Regions from separate parts of the Homo sapiens genome. Here all the other regions are linked to region 2. The links are contacts of gene promoters, found by promoter capture Hi-C in human tissues and cell types (Jung and others, 2019). All regions are on one chromosome and are shown on one strand. The core of a region is centred on a gene start or on the middle of the fragment in contact, and the rest is flanking DNA. Distances in the headings are between cores, read along the strand shown. Region 1 overlaps SHE (Src homology 2 domain containing E). Region 2 holds the start of LENEP (lens epithelial protein). Region 3 has its middle 50 kb from the start of ADAR.

Region 1 (3,377 bases), core at 503-3,002, 500 kb after region 2:
TCTAAAAGAGAACCTCACTGTTCGAGTCTCCATTAAAAAAAAAAAAAAAAACTATAAACTCCATCTGCCGGGCCCGGTGGCTCATGCCTATAATCCTAGCACTCTGGGAGGCCAAGGTGGGAGGATCAGTTGAGGCCAGAAGTTCAAGGCCAACCTTGCCAATATAGTGAGACCCCATCTCTAAAAAAAAAAAAAAAAAAAAAACTGTTATGTCTGTCTTTGCCTGTGATTTAAACAGAAAAAACCTCTTATGGAAAAAAGTGCAAATGAAGACTGGTTTTGATTTAATTTGTCTTTATTCTCCTCGCTAAATTTCAGGGTTTCTGAATTGTACCTGCTTTTGTTCAGATGTTTAGATTTATTCAATAAGAAAATATTAAAGTAATTTTAAAAGCTTGAGCACTGATCAAAGATATGAGTAAAAAATTGTCGGGCAGCCCTGTTTCTGATTCCAGGAGGAAAATAGAGTCTTAAGAGGCTCCAAGTTTAATGTTTTGGAAACATGAAATGGGTTAAAATGGATTAGGGGAAAAGGCACATTATTTGGAAATTGGAATTAACATTTTACGTGAAATCATTTGAGCATAAAGCATGGACTCTGGAGTTGGTAATAATTGGCCTCACCATAACTGCTGCATGACTGTGGCTTCCGTGTATTCACCTGTGAAAATGGGGTAACACATCTGTCACTGCCTTAGTGAGGCATCAGTGAGATTCTGGGCATAATACACCTAGCAGGTGTATACCTAGTCAGTACAGCCGTGAGTTAGACACTCCAGAGACAATTATATTTCCAAAGAGCATTCTGGACCATATAGGGCAATACTTATTGCTAACTACAGTTAATTTAGTAAAAGAAAATCTTAGTCTTCTGCTAAGACTTTCTTGTTTTTGTGTTTTCATGTGAATGACATAATTACCTGCAGCGAGTTGGGGATTGAGAAGGGAAAATTTTGGGCCCCTATAATGTTTCACACCAACCAACTGCATGTTTTTAGTAGGTGCAGGTCAGTGCTGAGCTTCAGCCCCAGGCTGCAAATGAGTGTTTATCTGCTGCCCGTCCCCTGCATTCTGTTGTCTGCTGTGGTAAATGGCCTCTATCGGCAGCCAGGGTGTAGCTTCCTCTTGCCATTTCCTCCTTCTCAGGCTCGTTTCCTCTTGGAGCCAGCTCTGCACGTCAGGGGCTATTCTCCCTGCAGGAAGGGTCGGCTTGCAGCCCCACGATTGTTTCTGTTTCTATGGCGCCTCAGGTTTGGGGGCAGCCAGGTGTTGGAATGGACTGGAAGGTTACTCCCCTTGAAGAGGGGGGTGGTGTGGGGAGGGGAGGCCTGTGCTCAAGCCCTTTCTTCCCCTAATTAAACATTGTTTCAAAAGATGATAGCAGTTTGCAGATTTTGCCTAATCCCAGGACCCTGCAAGAAAGCATTCTCAACTCCATGCTTTGTGTATCTCCCAGAACTCTAAGTGTGGGGAGACTGTCTAAATAGAAGGACCTCGTTGCAAAAGTAAAAACTCAAACGCGTGTGTAATAAGAACTCAAGATTCTAATCACTATACATCATTTTATTTTATTTTAGGGGAGGTGGGCTGGAAGGCCCGGTAGGAACACTGCCCATCCACCCTGTACATTTTAATCCAAATGTATTGAAATGTCCTTGTGAGCAGGGCTCCTTCTGTCTTAATGTTAGAATCACCTCTTTTTCCTTTTAGTTTAGCTGGGGCAGAATTGCAGCAAGGACCTTGGGAAAGGGTTTCCCCAGCCTGTGCCAGATGGTCTCAACTGAGTGTAAACTATGATTAGAAACCTTAAAATTGTATTCTATATTCATCCTTTGAACTCCTTTGTGTTTTCTGCTTCCCTTTTCTTAGTTCTTTAGAAAAGTTCCTTTTAAAAAAATTACAGCCTTGTCTTAATTGAACCAAGAACAGAGTATGTTTTTGTTTCTTGTTTTCCATAGCTCTGTTTGGAGTAAGCAAGGAAGAAGAAAAACTGTAGGACTGAGAGTCCAGGGACTCAGGAGATGCAGCTCTGACCTCAGACAACCCCAGATACCTGGCCTGGCCTGGGGGTGGGGGCCAGGGACAGTTCTTCCGACTCTTACATTCTGATGTGGAAGTGGTAGACACAGGCAGTACCTTTCTCCTCAGGATGGGACTAGCAATGACAGGCTCCGGAGAATGAGGAACCAAGATGGGGACTGTGGACACCCAGGAGGTGTGGAAGTGGTTCTCAGGTTTAGCTGCTCTTTAGAATCACCTGGGGGATTTTTACACTCTTGACTCCCACACTGTACCCCAGACTAATCCAATCTGAACCTCTGGTGGTTAAAGCAGTGTGTGTGAAAGCCCGCGGGTGATTTCAATGAGCTGTCCCTGCACAGAATTTGAGACAGCTGCTGACAGCCCCTAGTCAGCAGAGAACTATAACCTCAGCCTATACCTAAGTTTTGCACTTTTGAATTTGGTGTCCTGATTTTAATAACGTTTCCCTCATTTGTTGCCCTCTTTTTGTTATAGAGGTCTTAATGAGTCAGTGGCATTTCTCCACGGACCATCCCCACACCTGTTTTGAAGTTACAGATAGAAAGTCTTTCCACCCTTTGTGTCTGCGGCCCTGCGGTCTCCTGAGCCTCTTCCTCCTCACCTGACCCCTCAGCCTTCTTTGCTGGCACCTCCTTCCAGCCACCCATAACTGAAGGAGTCCCAGATTCTGCCTTTGATCCTCTCTCGTTTTCAATCTGCCGTCCTTTTCTCTTGTGATTGCTTTCATTCTCACAGTATTCACAACGATCCATTTGTTAACCCCTTGACGTATTCCTCCAGATCCACACTGTCACCTGCCTGGAGACATTCTTGAGTTCCCTCCCCTCCCTCTCTCCTCCCATCCATCCATCCAGTCATTATTTAGCACAATGATATGTCCTACAGTAATAAACAAGATATGGTGGTCTCTGCCCTGGCAGACTCCACCAAATTGAAAATACAGACACATCAACATATAAATGGATGCAGTGGGAGAAGAGCAGGGTGAGAGTGCGTTGGTCCAGCCGTGGCACCTGTTTAACTTTGTGGGGTATCAGAGAAGAAGGTGGGCAGGAAAGCCTTCTCCGGAGAGGAGAAGATGCTGAGTTAGATTGTAAAGGATTGCAAGATCGCCAGGACACCGGTGGGCTCAAGACAGTGTAGTATGCAGGGAACTGCCAGAAATTCCACTTGGTCAGAGCAAAGAATTGGATTATGGGGAGATGGGGCAGGGTAGTGTTGAGAAATTGGGGAGAAAGACAGTGACCTACTCATGTAAGCCTCCCATGCCGTTCTCAGTGTTCTTCACTTCTTAAGTAAACAGTCGGGAGCTTATGAGGTGTTAAGAGATGAGG
Region 2 (3,629 bases), core at 479-2,978:
CAGTTTCACCATGTTGGCCAGGCTGGTCTAGAACTCCTGACCTCAGGTGATCTGCCCGCCTCTGCCTCCCAAAGTGCTGGGATTACAGGTGTGAGCCACTGTACCTGGCCTGGCCTAAAGTTCTTTACTCTGGGCATATATCACCTTTACAAAAAGAATCTAGAAAAAAAAAAGAGTTAACTAAGAAGAAGGCTGAGGAAGAGCTGGTCCCAGGCAGGGAGGAAGAGGGCACTATCTATAATCTCCAGGCCAGTGCCCCAAGTGACAAAGGGCTGGGGGATGATAACTGGCCCCCCAGGAGGGGCCAGAGAATGCTGGATGGGAATCCCAGGGAAATACTGAACAGTCCCAAACAGGCTGGCTCTGAGGTTTGGGGGGCTGTGGGTGGGCAGATCAGTAAGCATAAGCACCCCCTGAGCAAGACGATACACATGGCTGGTGTATATCTACCACCGGGAGTAACTCATGGAAAATACCAGCTGTGGCTACCAAGAGGAAGTAAAGAGCCAATTCTGCTCAATCTAGCTGTTTATGTCCTGATAGGGCTGTGTCATGATAAGCCTGAGGGACCTGTGTGGCCACACAGGTGTCTTTCTCTGGTAACTTTGTATGTGAGCTGGGAGCTCTTGTAGCTCATGGGGTCCTACTTCCTTGATGAGCTGGGGACTAGCCTCAGCGCAGTGCTTTCCCCAAGATCCTCAGAGGCAGGAAGCTGCCTGGACCAGGTCTTCTATTTGGGAAAGGGCTGGGTCCTCTGGGTTTCCACACACCCTTGGCCTCACAGATGAAGACCCTACTCAAGCTGGGTCCCCTCCTTACCCACAGATTGAGAGGAACCTGAACTGTCTTCCACCCTCCCCACTCAGGAACCAGTGAGTCAGAAAACCTGGCTTTCAATCTTGGTTCTATTCAGGACAAGCTCCTTCCCTCCCTGGTCTGCACCCTTGCTCCCAGACCGTTCTAGTGCTGACTTTTTCTGATTCCCCTTTAGACACTTATAATCTTGGGCCTCAAGGCCTATGGATTATATTTATAATTCAGTGATTCTCAAACAGGTTTCTTAGGGGGCAGTCCATTCTTGGTACTATGAGGGTATGGTAAGATCAACCATCTGAGCTGGTGGGCTCACTGTGCCAAGCTTGGAGGAGTGCCAGGTCTTGCCACAATCTTACTGGGGTCCTAGCCAGAGCAGTCCAAGCTCCTGCCCACCAGAGGTCCACCAGAGGCAGGGGTTGGGAATGAAGGAGGCTCAGAGATGAGGCAGGTCTGCTAGATGACACAGCTCAAAGCAGGATCCACACTTTACTGTTTACTCATTGTTTATGGCCCATCCTTGGTCAAGCACAGCTGGCTTCAGGAGTCTTGATGGCAATTGGGCTGGGGGCTAAAGAAGAGAATGAGAAGCTAAGGCAAGCTCTGCCACAGAAGCTGCAGCTATGCCTCCTGTTTACTCTACCCTGCCCACCTGAGCGATGCCAGCCATGGTGCTGGTGGGGAGAGGAGGCAGTTCCCTGCTACCATTAATCCAGCAGTTCCTTGATACACCAGCAGCAGAGGAGGATGTAGGCGACTTCCTTCAGGGTCCGCTGGAAGCCCTCCCACCCTGTGCCCATCTTAATGACAGGCACCCGCAGCCCAGTGTCTCGAGGGGCCCCTCCGAGGAAGAAGGGTAGGGTTTGGGCTAGGGGCTGTGTCCGGGGCTGCATGTGGGCAACAGTTCCGAGGAAGGGTGTGGGAGCTGCCTCTAGTGCCTTTTATCAACACTGTCCCCACCCCCTTCAGCCTCATGACTACAGAGACAAAGGATCCAGGGTCTAGCAAAGGGAAGGTTCTAGGCCTGGGAACAGGCTGAGTCAGCCCCTCTAGACAGGGATGGGAGGGTGGGGTTAGTGGGAGGGAGGGCCTGGCCACTCCATCTTTCATCCTCCACAGCTAGGCCAAGGCAGCTTCCCCTCTTCCAGCCCAGGTGGTGCCCTGCCTGATTGCCCTTTTCCCAGTGGTTGGCACAACTCCTGCTTTCGCCCTCTGGTGGGCTCCTGCTGAGGCTGACATTGAGAACCATCAGTGAGAGCTCCTTTCCAGCCTGTTCTGCCCTGCCCCTGGGCCCCTTAGAGTGAGCACAGCCAGTCAGAGCTGGCAGCATTTGACCCACTTCTGCTTCTCCCATCCTCTGGAGCAGGAAGACACAGCTAGAGCAACAGGCACAGTGAGAGGCACGGTTTATTGCCAGGTTATACCCTAGGACGGTGTCCTTCCCTCCCTCCTAGGGTGGGAGGTCATGTGCGGGAGTTCCGCTCCTCTTCTTCGTTCTCCAGTAGATAGGCTGGACGGTATGTGGGGTGTCCTCCTGGGCTCAGGCACTTCAGGGCCGGGTTCCGCACGGTATTCTCCCGACTCCCCAGTGATGTGTATCTGGAGCAGGGAGGGTGGAGGGCAAGCATGTGGTAGGGTGGGCGATCCTATTGGCCCTCCCTATCCCAGCACCCTAAAAACTCCCTTACCCATTCCCTTCCCCTAATACCCTTACCCTCGGTCATACAGGATACAGTATGGGACAAACAGCTGACGCAGAAAATCCCAGATGTCTCTGTAGGTCCAGTCCTGGGAGGTCAGAGTAATAGAATAGTCACAAATGCTCACCTTTCCCACTTCTACCCCTGCTGTCCTGGGAAGGGGCCCATCCATGGCTCTTCTGCTCCCTTGGCCTCTGAGGGAGGGCTTGCTATCTGATTCTCTGGTATAGCTTGCTCTATGTATGCAAAGAGAAAGAGAAGGACTTCATCTTCTCCACTCTCTGCTTTCCATTCTTGAACCACCCTCTAGTGCAAGGGTGGAGCTTGAGGACAGGGAGAAACCGTCTATTTTTTTTTTGAGACGGAGTCTGGCTCTGTCGCCCAGGCTGGAGTGCAGTGGCGTGGTCTTGGCTCACTGCAACCTCTGCCTCCCGGGTTCATGCCATTCTCCTGCCTCAGCCTCCCGAGTAGCTGGCACTACAGGCGCCCACCACTGTGCCCAGCTAATTTTTTGTATTTTTAGTAGAGACGGGATTTCACTGTGTAGCCAGGATGGTCTCCATCTCCTGACTTCATGATCCGCCCGCCACGGCCTCCCAAAGTGCTGGGATTACAGGCGTGTGCCACCATGCCCGGCCCTATTTTTTTTTTTTTTTTTGAGACGGAGTCTTGCTCTGTCACCCAGGCTGGAGTGCAGTGGCGCGATCTTGGCTCACTGCAACCTCCGCTTCCCAGATTTAAGCAATTCTCCTGCCTCAGCCTCCTGAGTAGCTGGGATTACAGGCATGCGCCACCACAGCCGGCTAATTTTTGTATTTTTTTAGTAGAGATGGGGTTTCACCATGTTGGTCAGGCTGGTCTTGAAATCCTGACCTCGTGATGTGCCTGCCTCGGCCTCCCAAAGTGCTGGGATTACAGGCGTGTGCCACCGTGCCCAGCCCTATTTTTTTTAGACAGGGCCTTTACTGTTGCCCAGGCTGGAGTGCACTGGCATGATCATGGCTCACTACAGCCTCGACTTCCCTGGCTCAAGCGATCTTCCCGCCTCAGCCTGAGTAGCTGGGACTACAGGCATTGATCAGCCCACCTCGGCCTCCCAGAGTGCTGGGGTTACAG
Region 3 (3,328 bases), core at 759-3,258, 340 kb after region 2:
ATGGGACTTCCATTCTGGCAACGTAGAAGACAAGTTATCATTAAAAACATAACAAAACAAAAAACCCTCCTACTAAAAAAACTCCTTAAAGTACTGAATAAAATCTTTTTAAAAATCTCTTTTTATGCATAGCTGAGCTGGCAAAGAGTAAGGGAATTCCTCAGAGTCCAAAATAAATCAACAGCACAAATCCAGTGGGTGAATGAGCACTGAATCCAGCAGCTTTCCAATGGGCATCTTATGAGCCCCAGTAACCTATCACTATCAACTATTTTATAAACCAAAAGGCAAAGCTTAGTGCCCTTGCAAGCTGGAGAATTGGTTGTAAAATCTTCCATAAAGTCAGGGCCCCCAAAGGGCTATCCTCTCAGTGAAAGAATGAACTAGAAAGAAAAGCCTGTCTCATAAAGGAGAAGGACATACCTCTGAATAAAATGAAATAAAATCTCCCCCAAAATAACTCATAAGCATTAAGTTGTCCTTCACAAAGCATTGGTGCCAAAATTCATGCTACCTGTTTGGTCAAAACAATTCCAAGCCAAGAATGTAAAGTGGTCCCAAGTTTGGTGTGTCCCTAATGTACTTAGCAGAGGAAAAACAAATCCTTTCTAATGGAATACACCTTTAATGTAAATTTTGAAGATTATTCACAGGTGCAGTTCCAACAAACATGAGATCACAATGAAAATTACAGGATACATATGAGGAAAAGACACCATGTGAGAAAGTCAGCAGAGAGGCCGGGCGCAGTGGCTCACGCCTGTAATCCCAGCACTTTGGGAGGCCGAGGGGGGCAGATCACGAGGTCAGGAAATCGAGACCATCCTGGCTAACACAGTGAAACCCTGCCTCTACTAAAAATACAAAAACAAAATTAGCCGGGCGTGGTGGCAGGCGCCTGTAGTCCCAGCTACTCGGGAGGCTGAGGCAGGAGAATGGCGTGAACCTGGGAGGTGGAGCTTGCAGTGAGCTGAGATAGCGCCACTGCACTCCAGCCTGGGCGACAGAGCGAGACTCCATCTCAAAAAAAAAGAAAAAGAAAAAGAAAGAAAGTCAGCAGAGAAATTAACAGCAAAATCAGACTCGCAAAGACTTCAGCATTGACGTGACCATATGAAGTAAAACAAATGAGGAATTGACAGGTTTTTAAGAAGATTTTAAAACATGATAGAGGAACAAGACTATAAAAATGACCTTGATATGAAAAAATGTCAAACATAAATTGTAGAAATAAAAAACAAAATTGCCGAAATTAAGACTTCAACACCGAAAAGGTTGGAAATTAATAACTTTAAATGCTTATAATTTAAAAAGTAGAGAGAATAAAAATAATGAGCTAAATCTCCAACTTGGGAAATCAGAAAAAGAACAGCAGAATAACCATGAGGAAAGTAGTAGGAAGAAAAAAATAACAATAAGTAGAGAAAGTAATGAAACTGAAAACGGAGGATCAACAAAGCCAAAATTGATTCTTTGAAGTTGAAAGACTTCTGGAAAAATTTAAGAGACAGAGATAAACAGCATGTACAGATAAGCAATACTGAAAACTGAAAACGAGATAAAAATCTATAACTATGGTTATAGTGAACATTTAAACATAAAAGTATAAACAAATCAATGCTAATAATTCAAAACTTAGATGATATGGAAAACGTCCTAGAAAATATAATTTACCAAAACAGATTCAAGACTAGAAAGGCAGAATGAATAGCTCTATAATAATTAAAGAAATTCAATCAGTATTTAAAGTGTTCCCGCAAAGAAAATACCAAGCCCTGATATTTTCCAGGTGAGTTATATGAAATTTTCAAGGAGAAGATCATTCCAATCTTATAGGAGTTTTTGTGGACGATAGAAAAAGAGAGAATACTTGCCAGCTCAGTTTTGGAGGCATCTCTCGCTATTTCTGTGAGGTCTTTACACATGATCTCTCTAGTATGGTGGCTTCAGGGTAGCTAGACTTCTTATGTGTTGGCTCAGGTCTCCCAAGATGCTTGGAGAGGGTGTGTGTACGTGTGGAGAGAGATAGAGACAGAAACGCACACACACACACACACACACACACACAGAGAGAGAGAGAGAGAGAGAGAGAGAGACATGATATGAGAAGTGCTAGCCTTAGACTTGCTTTAGCCAATGCAGAGTGAGCAGAAGTGACAGACTCCCAGCCAGAAGCCTAAGAGCCAGTGCATGCTTCTCCAAGTTCCCTTTTCCCTCCACAACTGGCAATGTTCTACAGTAGCTTCCCTTTCAGGCTGAGCCTCAAAGTAAGAATGATGAAAATGTGGAACATTCTAAGGATTTTAGAAGGTGAAAAAACAGATAGAAAAAAATTAAAATGTGGAATAGAGCCCCCTGACTCATGATGAACATGTAGCATGAGGAAGAAATAAACTTTTTTGGTTGTTTTATTGCCATAACACAACCAGTCTTTCCTGACTGGTATGGGCACCTGGGAATAATTGCAGTACTGATACAAAGAAGATCATGATGCTTTATTGAAATACATTAAGAAGAATTAAGTAAAAAGAGAGAAATATTATCAATGGCTAGAAAGTCTCAATATCCTAAATTCTCACCCAAATGTCTCATAGATTCAGTGCCATTTCTATCAAAACTTTAAAGTGTTTTTCATAATTTTGACAAGCCAATTCTAAAATATATGTGAAAGAGCAAAGAGCCAAGATGATCCAAGGTACTCTCTAAAAAAGAATAAAATCAGCAATTACATTCTTGGGCATTTATCCCAGAGATATGAAAAGTTATAGTCACCCAAAACCTATGCTCAGATGTTTATAGCCACTTTATTCATAACATCTCAAAACTGAAAATAGCCCAAGTATACTTCAATGGGCGAGTGGTTAAGCAAACTGGTATATCCATACCATGGACTAGGATTCAGTCATAAAAAGGAATGGGCTATTAATACGTGTAACAATCTAGATGAATCTCATGGGAATTATGCTGAGTTGAAAAAAAAAAGCCTATCTCAAAAGGCTACATACAGTATTATTTCATTTATATAACATTACTTAAATAACAAAATTATAGAGATGGAGAACACGTTAATTGTTGTCAAGAATTAGGAATGAGGGGAAGGGGGACTGGTTGTGGCTATAAAGGGGTAGCACAAGGGAGCCTTGCAATGATGAAGCTGTTCTTTATCTTGATTTTGGTGGTGGTTACACAAATATATACACATAATAAATTTGATACAAGACATGAATATAGACACCCAAGAAGTAAAATAAACTAAAGAGACCCACTCTGAGACACATTGTAATCAAACTTTTGAAAGACAAAGAGAGAATCTTGAAAGCAGAAAGAA

What was found. The method cuts DNA at HindIII sites, captures the fragments that hold promoters and counts their contacts. A contact is called where the count stands out against the background at its distance.
Region 1: a fragment that was not itself captured here is called in contact with the fragment with the promoter of LENEP in region 2 in 1 of the 25 tissues and cell types used here (liver).
Region 3: a fragment that was not itself captured here is called in contact with the fragment with the promoter of LENEP in region 2 in 1 of the 25 tissues and cell types used here (IMR-90 fibroblasts).

Annotation. Positions count from the first base shown.
Region 1 is chr1:154,491,202-154,494,578 of GRCh38, reverse strand. The region is part of intron 2 of SHE (Src homology 2 domain containing E); the gene reads left to right. Among named protein-coding and RNA genes, the nearest start is that of TDRD10, 9.3 kb to the left of the region's middle. The HindIII fragment of the contact is 7,313 bases long and covers 1-3,377 here.
Region 2 is chr1:154,991,685-154,995,313 of GRCh38, reverse strand. It overlaps LENEP (lens epithelial protein), which reads right to left and starts at 1,728. Exons shown (of 1, transcript NM_001394530.1): 1 at 999-1,728. The coding sequence starts at 1,706. The coding sequence ends at 1,521. FLAD1 (flavin adenine dinucleotide synthetase 1) reads right to left here. Exons shown (of 7, transcript NM_025207.5): 6 at 2,528-2,601; 7 at 2,203-2,412. The coding sequence ends at 2,277. The HindIII fragment of the contact is 8,242 bases long and covers 211-3,629 here.
Region 3 is chr1:154,656,575-154,659,902 of GRCh38, reverse strand. No RefSeq gene overlaps it. Among named protein-coding and RNA genes, the nearest start is that of ADAR, 50 kb to the right of the region's middle. The HindIII fragment of the contact is 9,513 bases long and covers 1-3,328 here.